Linked DNA regions of Homo sapiens: region 2 is linked to region 1. Evidence: promoter capture Hi-C in 16 types of primary human blood cells and fetal thymus (Javierre and others, 2016). All regions are on one chromosome and are shown on one strand. Each heading gives the region's core, a stretch centred on a gene start or on the middle of the fragment in contact. The rest is flanking DNA. Distances are from core to core; before and after follow the strand shown.

What was found. Contacts are between HindIII fragments. The CHiCAGO score rates a contact against its expected background, and 5 or more counts as called.
Region 2: the fragment with the promoter of LRRC75A here is called in contact with the fragment with the promoter of CENPV in region 1 in 14 of 17 cell types (erythroblasts, neutrophils, total CD4 T cells and 11 more); the score reaches 23.5 in erythroblasts.

What each region holds. Positions count from the first base shown.
Region 1 is chr17:16,351,045-16,355,010 of GRCh38, reverse strand. CENPV (centromere protein V) reads left to right here and starts at 1,542. Exons shown (of 5, transcript NM_181716.3): 1 at 1,542-1,984. The coding sequence starts at 1,575. RefSeq lists silencers at 1,333-1,482, 1,543-2,152. The HindIII fragment of the contact is 31,801 bases long and covers 1-1,945 here.
Region 2 is chr17:16,490,105-16,493,652 of GRCh38, reverse strand. LRRC75A (leucine rich repeat containing 75A) reads left to right here and starts at 1,460. Exons shown (of 4, transcript NM_001113567.3): 1 at 1,460-1,908. The coding sequence starts at 1,663. All of the region lies in intron 2 of LOC124903936 (a long non-coding RNA gene), which reads right to left. RefSeq lists silencers at 1,208-1,547, 1,638-1,687, 1,798-1,857. The HindIII fragment of the contact is 6,898 bases long and covers 1-3,511 here.

The sequences.
Region 1 (3,966 bases), core at 293-2,792:
AAGCTGTACATCTAAGATATTTGCACGTTGCTGTGTGTAAACCATAATTCCAACAACAACAACGACAAAATGGCAAGGTGGGGCTCGGTGGCTCACGCCTGTAATCCCAACACTTGGGGAGAACTAGGCGGGAGGATCGCTTGAGGCCAGGAGTTAGAGACCAGCCTGGGCAACATAGGGAAACCCGGTATCTACAAAACAACAATAGCAACAATTCGCTGGGGCGGGGGGGGGGGGGGGGGGGCGCCGCCTGTTGTTCCAGCTACTCAGCTACTCCAGAGGCCCAGGCGGCAGGATCGCTTGAGGCCAGGAGTTCTTGGCTACACTGAGCCGAGATCCCGCTACTGCACTCCAGTCTGTCAGATCCTGTATGGAAAAAAAAAAAAAAAGACAAAATAGTTAAACTATGCCTTTAATTCAATAAACTATTAAACTAACAATACCATGAAGAAAATCAGAATAAAGAAGAAAGATAGGCTGACGCAGGAGAATCGCTGGAACGGTGAGGCGGAGGTTGCGTGAACCGAGATCGCGCCACTGCACTCCAGCCTGGCGACAGAGTGAGACTCCAAAAAAGAAAAAAAAAAAAAAAAAAAAAAGAAAGATAGGCTGGGCCCGGTGGCTCAGGCCTGTAATCCCAGCGCTTTGGGAGGCCGAGGCGGATGGATCACCTGAGGTCGGGAGTATTCGGCACCAGCCTGACCAACATGGTGAAACCCCGTCTCTACTAAAAATACAAAATTAGCCGGGTGTGGTGGCGAATGCCTGTAATCCCAGCTACTCAGGAGGCTGAGGCAGGAGAATCGCTTGAACCTGGGAGGCGGAGGTTGCGGTGAGGCGAGATCGCGTCACTGCACTCCAGCCTGGGCAACAAGAGCGAAACTCGGTCTGAAAAAAGAAGAAGAAGGAGAAGGAGAAGAAGACTATCTGGGTTCCATCAACGATTCTCGTGCCTTTTGTCTTTAAACTTTGGTGCTGCCTTCATCAAAATCATACTAATGAAATTCGACGCGCGGGTCATTCATTTAATTAAAATGAAACCCCAAATCTGTTGACTATTGGTATCCTCATGACACTGTTCTATAATGTGACAGAAAAGACGAAGGTGAAGAACTATGGTTTCGGCCGCTGTTACACAGGAGGTAGCAGGTGGCAGGCCGTTTACACAAATTAGCTCGTTTTTGGAGACGAAGTTACCCCAGGCTGCCCGCTCGGATGAGCCTGCGAATTCAGGCCCAACCCAGGCCCCTCCAGGTCGGGAAGGTACGAAGAGCCCGCTGGATTCACACAGGGCAGGGGCGCCTTCGCAGGTGCGAGTGGATTCTGGGTATCGCGAGCGTAGGCCCAGGCGCAGCCCCTCTGCCTGCGGGACTGAACAGGCAGGTGCGTCCCAGCGGCCGGGCGGGCCGGGTCTCCCTCCTGCGGGCAGGCGCCGCGCTGCGGGGCGCGGCTGGCGGAGCGGGGCAGCCGGGCGCAGCGCCCCCTGGGCCTGAAGACTGGCGGGCGGCGGGGGCGCGCGCAGGCCGGCGGGGGCGCGCCGCGCTGCGAGGCCTGCGCGCCAGGCTGCGGGAGCCATGCGGCGATCGAGGAGCTCTGCGGCCGCCAAGCTGCGCGGGCAGAAGCGGTCCGGGGCCTCCGCGGCCCCCGCGGCCTCCGCGGCCGCTGCCTTGGCACCCAGCGCCACCCGCACACGGCGCTCCGCTAGCCAGGCCGGGAGCAAGAGCCAGGCGGTGGAGAAGCCGCCGTCGGAGAAGCCGCGGCTGAGGCGCTCGTCGCCGCGGGCCCAGGAGGAGGGCCCGGGGGAGCCGCCGCCGCCTGAGCTGGCGTTGCTCCCGCCACCGCCGCCGCCGCCGCCGACTCCCGCGACCCCGACGTCCTCGGCGTCCAACCTGGACCTGGGCGAGCAGCGGGAGCGCTGGGAGACGTTCCAGAAGCGGCAGAAGCTTACCTCCGAGGGTGCCGCCAAGCTCCTGCTAGACACCTTGTGAGTGCGGCGGGCCGGGGGGCGCGGGAGCCGTTGCCACGCGGACCCCCTCGGCAGGAGTCGGGCTCGCAGCCCGCGTGCAGGCCTTGGGCGCCTTTCAGCTCTGAGCCTTCCACGTTACGGAGCCGACGCGGCTCCCCCGTTAGCACTGGGGTTATTCCTTAATTCTAAGGGCGGCGGGGCGGGGCGGTGCTTCTAGGGCTGTGTGGCCTGGGAATGGAAAGGGGGCTTCGTCCGGAGCTTGAGGGCGCGCGCAGCCGTCTTGGGACACAAAGAGTCTTTCCCGGCCATAAGCATCGTGCTCGGGGACGTTGTCTCTTGCTGGCGCGCAAAGGGTGTGGGGGCCTTTCTTAGTGAAAAGAACATAAATCCCACGGCTTTCTCTTACCCGAATCCCCTTTTTTTTTGTGTTTGCACACGTGTTTTTGAGGGTGGGTGGAAGGGAAAGGTAGAAGCGTTGAAGGAAGCATGAATAGTTTTGAACTCACTGGGAAGCAAAATCCCGTCATTGTTCCAGGCACTGCCAGGGAGGGAGCAGGGGGCGGAGGTTATTGATCCGGGAGAGAAGCGCGCGCGAAGAGATGCTCCGGCCTCGCGCGGCGGCGGGGATACCTACGTAGGGAGGCTTTTATGTGCTCAGCCAGCTAATGCTCCCTGCCGCTCGCCCTCCTGGCTGCTCCGCAGTCTTTTAGATGGCCCGAGGAGCATCTCGAGTGTCCGCGATTTGGGAAAGAGCTTTTAACTGGGCTGTTAAAGGGCTGCCTTCTTTTCTCCAAATGCGATCTGGATTCCTGCCTCGGGGAACAGTTGTGCTACAGAGAGATATTTTAACGCCCTGATATTATATTTCAGTGTCAATTTTACGAATTAAAAAGAACAATCAAAACACTAGGGGGAAAAAACCGACAAGAATAACCTAGCAATTGCATAACCTGAGAATTACTTCTTTTCTTGAACATGTTCCTTTGAGCTTCTTGCGGAAGAAATTCTCTTAGGATGAGTCGTCCCCGACAGAAGATACATATTTGGTTTTCTGTGTGCTTCACTTTTTGGTTTTTCATCTTGGACTGCACACTGAATTTTTAAAAAACGTTCATCCATCAAACATTTGAGCACCTATAGGGTGACGGCTGCCTCTGGGCAGAAGGAATACGAAGATCCTTAGGAATGTAAAACTCATGGTGTCTTCAAGGCATACAGAAAAAAAGAAGAATGTAAAACTCAAATTTGAGATAAATTTTTATTTTAAGACAAACTGATAAATGGTCAAGAAAAAGTTTTAAAATATTGACATAAAAAAGCTGTTTTTCTCCCACTAGATTGCCATGACTTTGTACTTATAAAGTCTACTAAATTATATTCAAAAAGTGTGTATAACTGTACCATTTTCGTTAAAATATTGTGTAGAAAAAAGTTTGGGGGAATATATAACAAATAATTAACTGTAGATCCCTCTGGGTGTAAAGATTACAGGAGGCTTTCACTTTGAGCACTCTCAAATAGTGTGAAGTTTGGAGTTTTTACAATAAGCATTATGTGTGCAGAAAAAATTAAAATACATAAACGTAAAGAAACATGAAAAAATGATCAGTCTTAATCATGCAAATTAAAACTGCAGTGAGCTATTTTTCCTATAATTATTGCCTGAGACTGTACAGTGAAATGTTTTCTCATTTATTTATCGGGTAAGGGTGTTCAATCCTTTTGGAAAGCGATTTTAAGACATTTATCAGATCTTAATGTTCATTTCTGAGTTTGGCTTATATATAAGCTTTAAAGGGTTAAAATTGTATGTAGGCTGGGTGAGGTGGCTCATGCCTGTAATCCCAGCACTTTGGGAGGCCGAGGCGGGTGGATCACCTGAGGTGGGGAGTTTGAGACTGCCTGACCAACATGGAGAAACCCCGTCTCTACTAAAAATACAAAATTAGCTGGGTGTGGTGGTGGGCGCCTGTAATCCCAGCTACTCGGGAGGCTGAGGC
Region 2 (3,548 bases), core at 211-2,710, 140 kb before region 1:
CTCAGCCCTGATGTTTCCCTTATTAAGTTTCTATCCGCTGACCCCCACCCTGCTCCTTAGCAACGAATTCCCACTTGCCCATGCTGTAATTGGAGTTGAGCTCAATCTCTCTCTCCCTGCAACTGCAAAATCTCATAGCAGAGGTCCCTACACCTATGGTAATGGTCCTGAATAAAGTCTTCCTTACGATGCTTTAACTCATGTCATTAAATAATTTTTTCCTTTAGCAGTGTCCACCGAGTTTACTCTCCCAATTCTTGGCAGTGTTATTATCCTAGCCTGACAGGAAGAATCAGGACTCAAGAAGCTGAAGACTCGCCTGATACTCAGTGCTCACTAAGTAGTGGGGCTCAGCTCCCTGTGATTTGGGATCCAGCCTCCTGCCCCTACAGCCCACGTGCCCTTACACCCTCAAGCAACACCCAGAGCTGGGGTCAGAGGCGAGCTTGCACAATTGCTTCTGCCCTGCGCTGGGACCAGGGCGGCCTGTGGTCTGCAACAGAGAAGCTCCCCCACCTGCCTTCGCCTTCACTCTGGCAAGCCCTGGCAACACCATGAGATCCCAGGGCTCTGGTCCCTTACAGACTGGGCCTGGCAGAGGCACGGGGAGGAAGGTGGGCCAGCAGGGTGTACCGCTGGGCCTACTCGCAGACGTGCGTTTGCTTTGTTGTACCAGGACTACCCCAGGGACCCTTCTCCAGGGCTGTGAGAGTGAGAACAAGAGAACACAGGAGTTCACACCTCTCCGGTCCAGATGCTTTGAGAGCATGATGGAAGCAACAGGCCCTCTCCATAGAAGGGCACGCACACAACCCATAAGCTCGCACAGTTTCCAGGTTTACGCACCAACCACACCACTACAGCGCCCTGCAAGCAGGCCAGGTCTCAAAGGAGCGTGCATGGGAATCACCCAACATGCTGGCTAAAAAGGCGGATCCCAGGCCCCACCGAGGAGATTATCATTCAGTAGGTCTCGGTGGAGGCCTTAGAGCCTGCGTTTTTAACCAGCGCCTCCGACGATTTGGGCGCTGAGGCTCAGCGGAACCCACCTTGAGAAACCCGACTCTGGGCCTAAGAGAGCCCCCCAACACACACACCCCCATGCTCCAAACTTTCCCCATCTCGCCCGACGCACCGGGCGCGCGGTGGTGGAAGCGTCGGGGAGCCCGGTGGGGACCGAGAGCGACGGCCCATGGGGCCTGCCTGTTCCCCTCGCCCCCGCGCCACGGCCCCGGGAAGCGCAGCACTGCCGCCCGCAGGAGGCGCGACTGCCGAGAGGACGCAGGCAGGGGGCGCCTGGTGGTGGTCCCCAGCCCGGAGCCGCGGGGCGGGAAGGAGCGGGAGCCCGAGAAGAGGGAGGCGCGCGACGCCGCGGAGCTCCGGCGCGGAGGCGGGGGGCGGGGCGGGCCGAGCCGGGCCGGGGCGGGGCCGGCGGGCGGGCCGGCGGCGAGCGCCCGGGGAGCGCGCCCGGGTAGCCAAGAGGGAGGAGCGCGGGGAGCGCCGACAGCCGCCCGCCCGCCCGCCCCCGCGACGCCCGCGCGCAACAGTTCCCCCAAAGTTGCAGCCCGGGAGGCGAGCGCGCACGGGCGGCCGAGGGGCGGGCGGTTGGCGGGGACGCGGCCTCGCGGCCCAGAGCGGAGAGTCCCGGCGGGCGGCGGCGGCATGGGCACCCGGCAGACCAAGGGCAGCCTGGCGGAGAGAGCCAGCCCCGGCGCCGCGCCGGGCCCCCGACGCGAACGGCCGGACTTCTGGGCGTCGCTGCTGCTGCGCGCCGGGGACAAGGCGGGGCGCGCGGGCGCGGGGATGCCCCCCTACCACCGGCGAGTCGGCATGGTCCAGGAGCTGCTGCGGATGGTGCGCCAGGGCCGGCGGGAGGAGGCGGGGACGCTGCTGCAGCACCTGCGCCAGGTGAGCGCGGGGAGGGGGCGCGGGGGGCGCGCCGGGCCAGGGGGCGTGCTGGGCCGGGGGGGGCGCCCCATCCCTAACCGAGGAAGCCGGGGGCACCGAGGGGCACCGCCCAGGGGCCCCTTCCGCGGGGATGGAGCCCTGTCTGGCAGCAGGTGCCTCGGCGCTTCCGCTGAATGTGGGGCCTCAGGGCAGGGCGGAGGAAGGCTGGCCGGGTGAGGCCCGCCGAAGGGGACCTGTTGGCATAATGTCCCCACTGCTCTCCTCCGCAGGCAGAGAAGGAGGCTGGTCTCCGGGGACAGTCGGTGGGCGGGGAAGCAGGGATGCCTGCCTGATCTGGGCCAGGGCTCTTTTCTTCCTGTCTGCCCACTGGCAGTCACTCCCGGCCGAGGGTCCTCAAGGAATGCGGTTATCAGTTGGACCTGGCTTGGCTTCCCGAGAGCGAGTCCAGGGGCACAGCCCTGGGGCCAATGAGATTCCAGTCCCTAGGTCCTTCACTCGCCTGGGAGGCATCCTGGATTGTAGTTCAAGGAGGAGACTGTTTCCTCTCCCCTGACTAACTTCAGCAGATCCTCAACCATGAGCCCCTGCGGAAAGCGGTAGAGACAGGGGAGCTGGATTTGGTGCCCTGTGTGACCACCTGGCCAGCAGCAACTTCAGGAGACTGCCAGGACTCTGTCCTTAGCCTGTGCCTGTCCCACTGGCTAGGGACAGATGTTGCGGAATTGGCCAGTTCCCTCTGCTTTGGGGCTGCCCTGAGGCTAATGCTATCACTCACCTCTCTGTGGCTTGTTTTCCTTTGTCAGTTTCTTTGGTGGGGAGAGGAGCATGGCCCATGCCATGGATTTTGTTGAGTATAAGACAGGCAGGGGAGTGCAAAGCTGCTCTCCTGCATCACCAAGCAGGTTGTCTTGGCCTGGCTTTGGTGGGTAGACAATCCAGGCCCCATATTCTTGCTAGACTGACCCCATTAGAGGTGGAGTCTACCGTGGATGGCAGAGGGAAAATCTCAGGTGACCTTTCTGGGGTTTTCCAGTCGCTGCTGAAAGAGGCTGTAGGAGCACCTTCTTGGGAGGAGCTTCCAAAATCTAATCAGACCCACATCCCTCTTGGGTTCTGCAGCACTCTTCCCCACCTTTGTATCTGGTGCGCTCTTACCCTAAAGTATGTGTCCCCAAGCTGTGCACTGCACAGGGAGAGGCAAGCAGAGACGAGGGGACTTGGGAAGATGTGGGACTTCTGCTTCTGCCTCTGTTTTCCCCAACAACTTCCAGAATGATGCCCGAGACGCTGCTGGATCCCCATGTGCCTTCTCTGAGTTCAGTCATCAAAGAAAGATGACATTATGCACCACTGAACTTTAGCAGTGTGTATTTCTTTGTCTTTTGAAAATTGGAAGCTGACATATGGCCTTTATAGTAACTCTTTCACTTTTAAACAGAATATTGGGTTTTCCAGACCATGGTATCCTATTTACACACCATACAGTAAGGTTTTCCTGATCACATGCTGTTTCCCCCACCCTGCAATGGGTGCTTTGGGGGATACAGAAGAACAGAGGGAGCTGGCAAGCACTTCTTGGAGGGTGCAAGACCAGAGCGAAGCTTGCATGATGGAGGGCCGCTTGGAGGCCCACGGGAGGA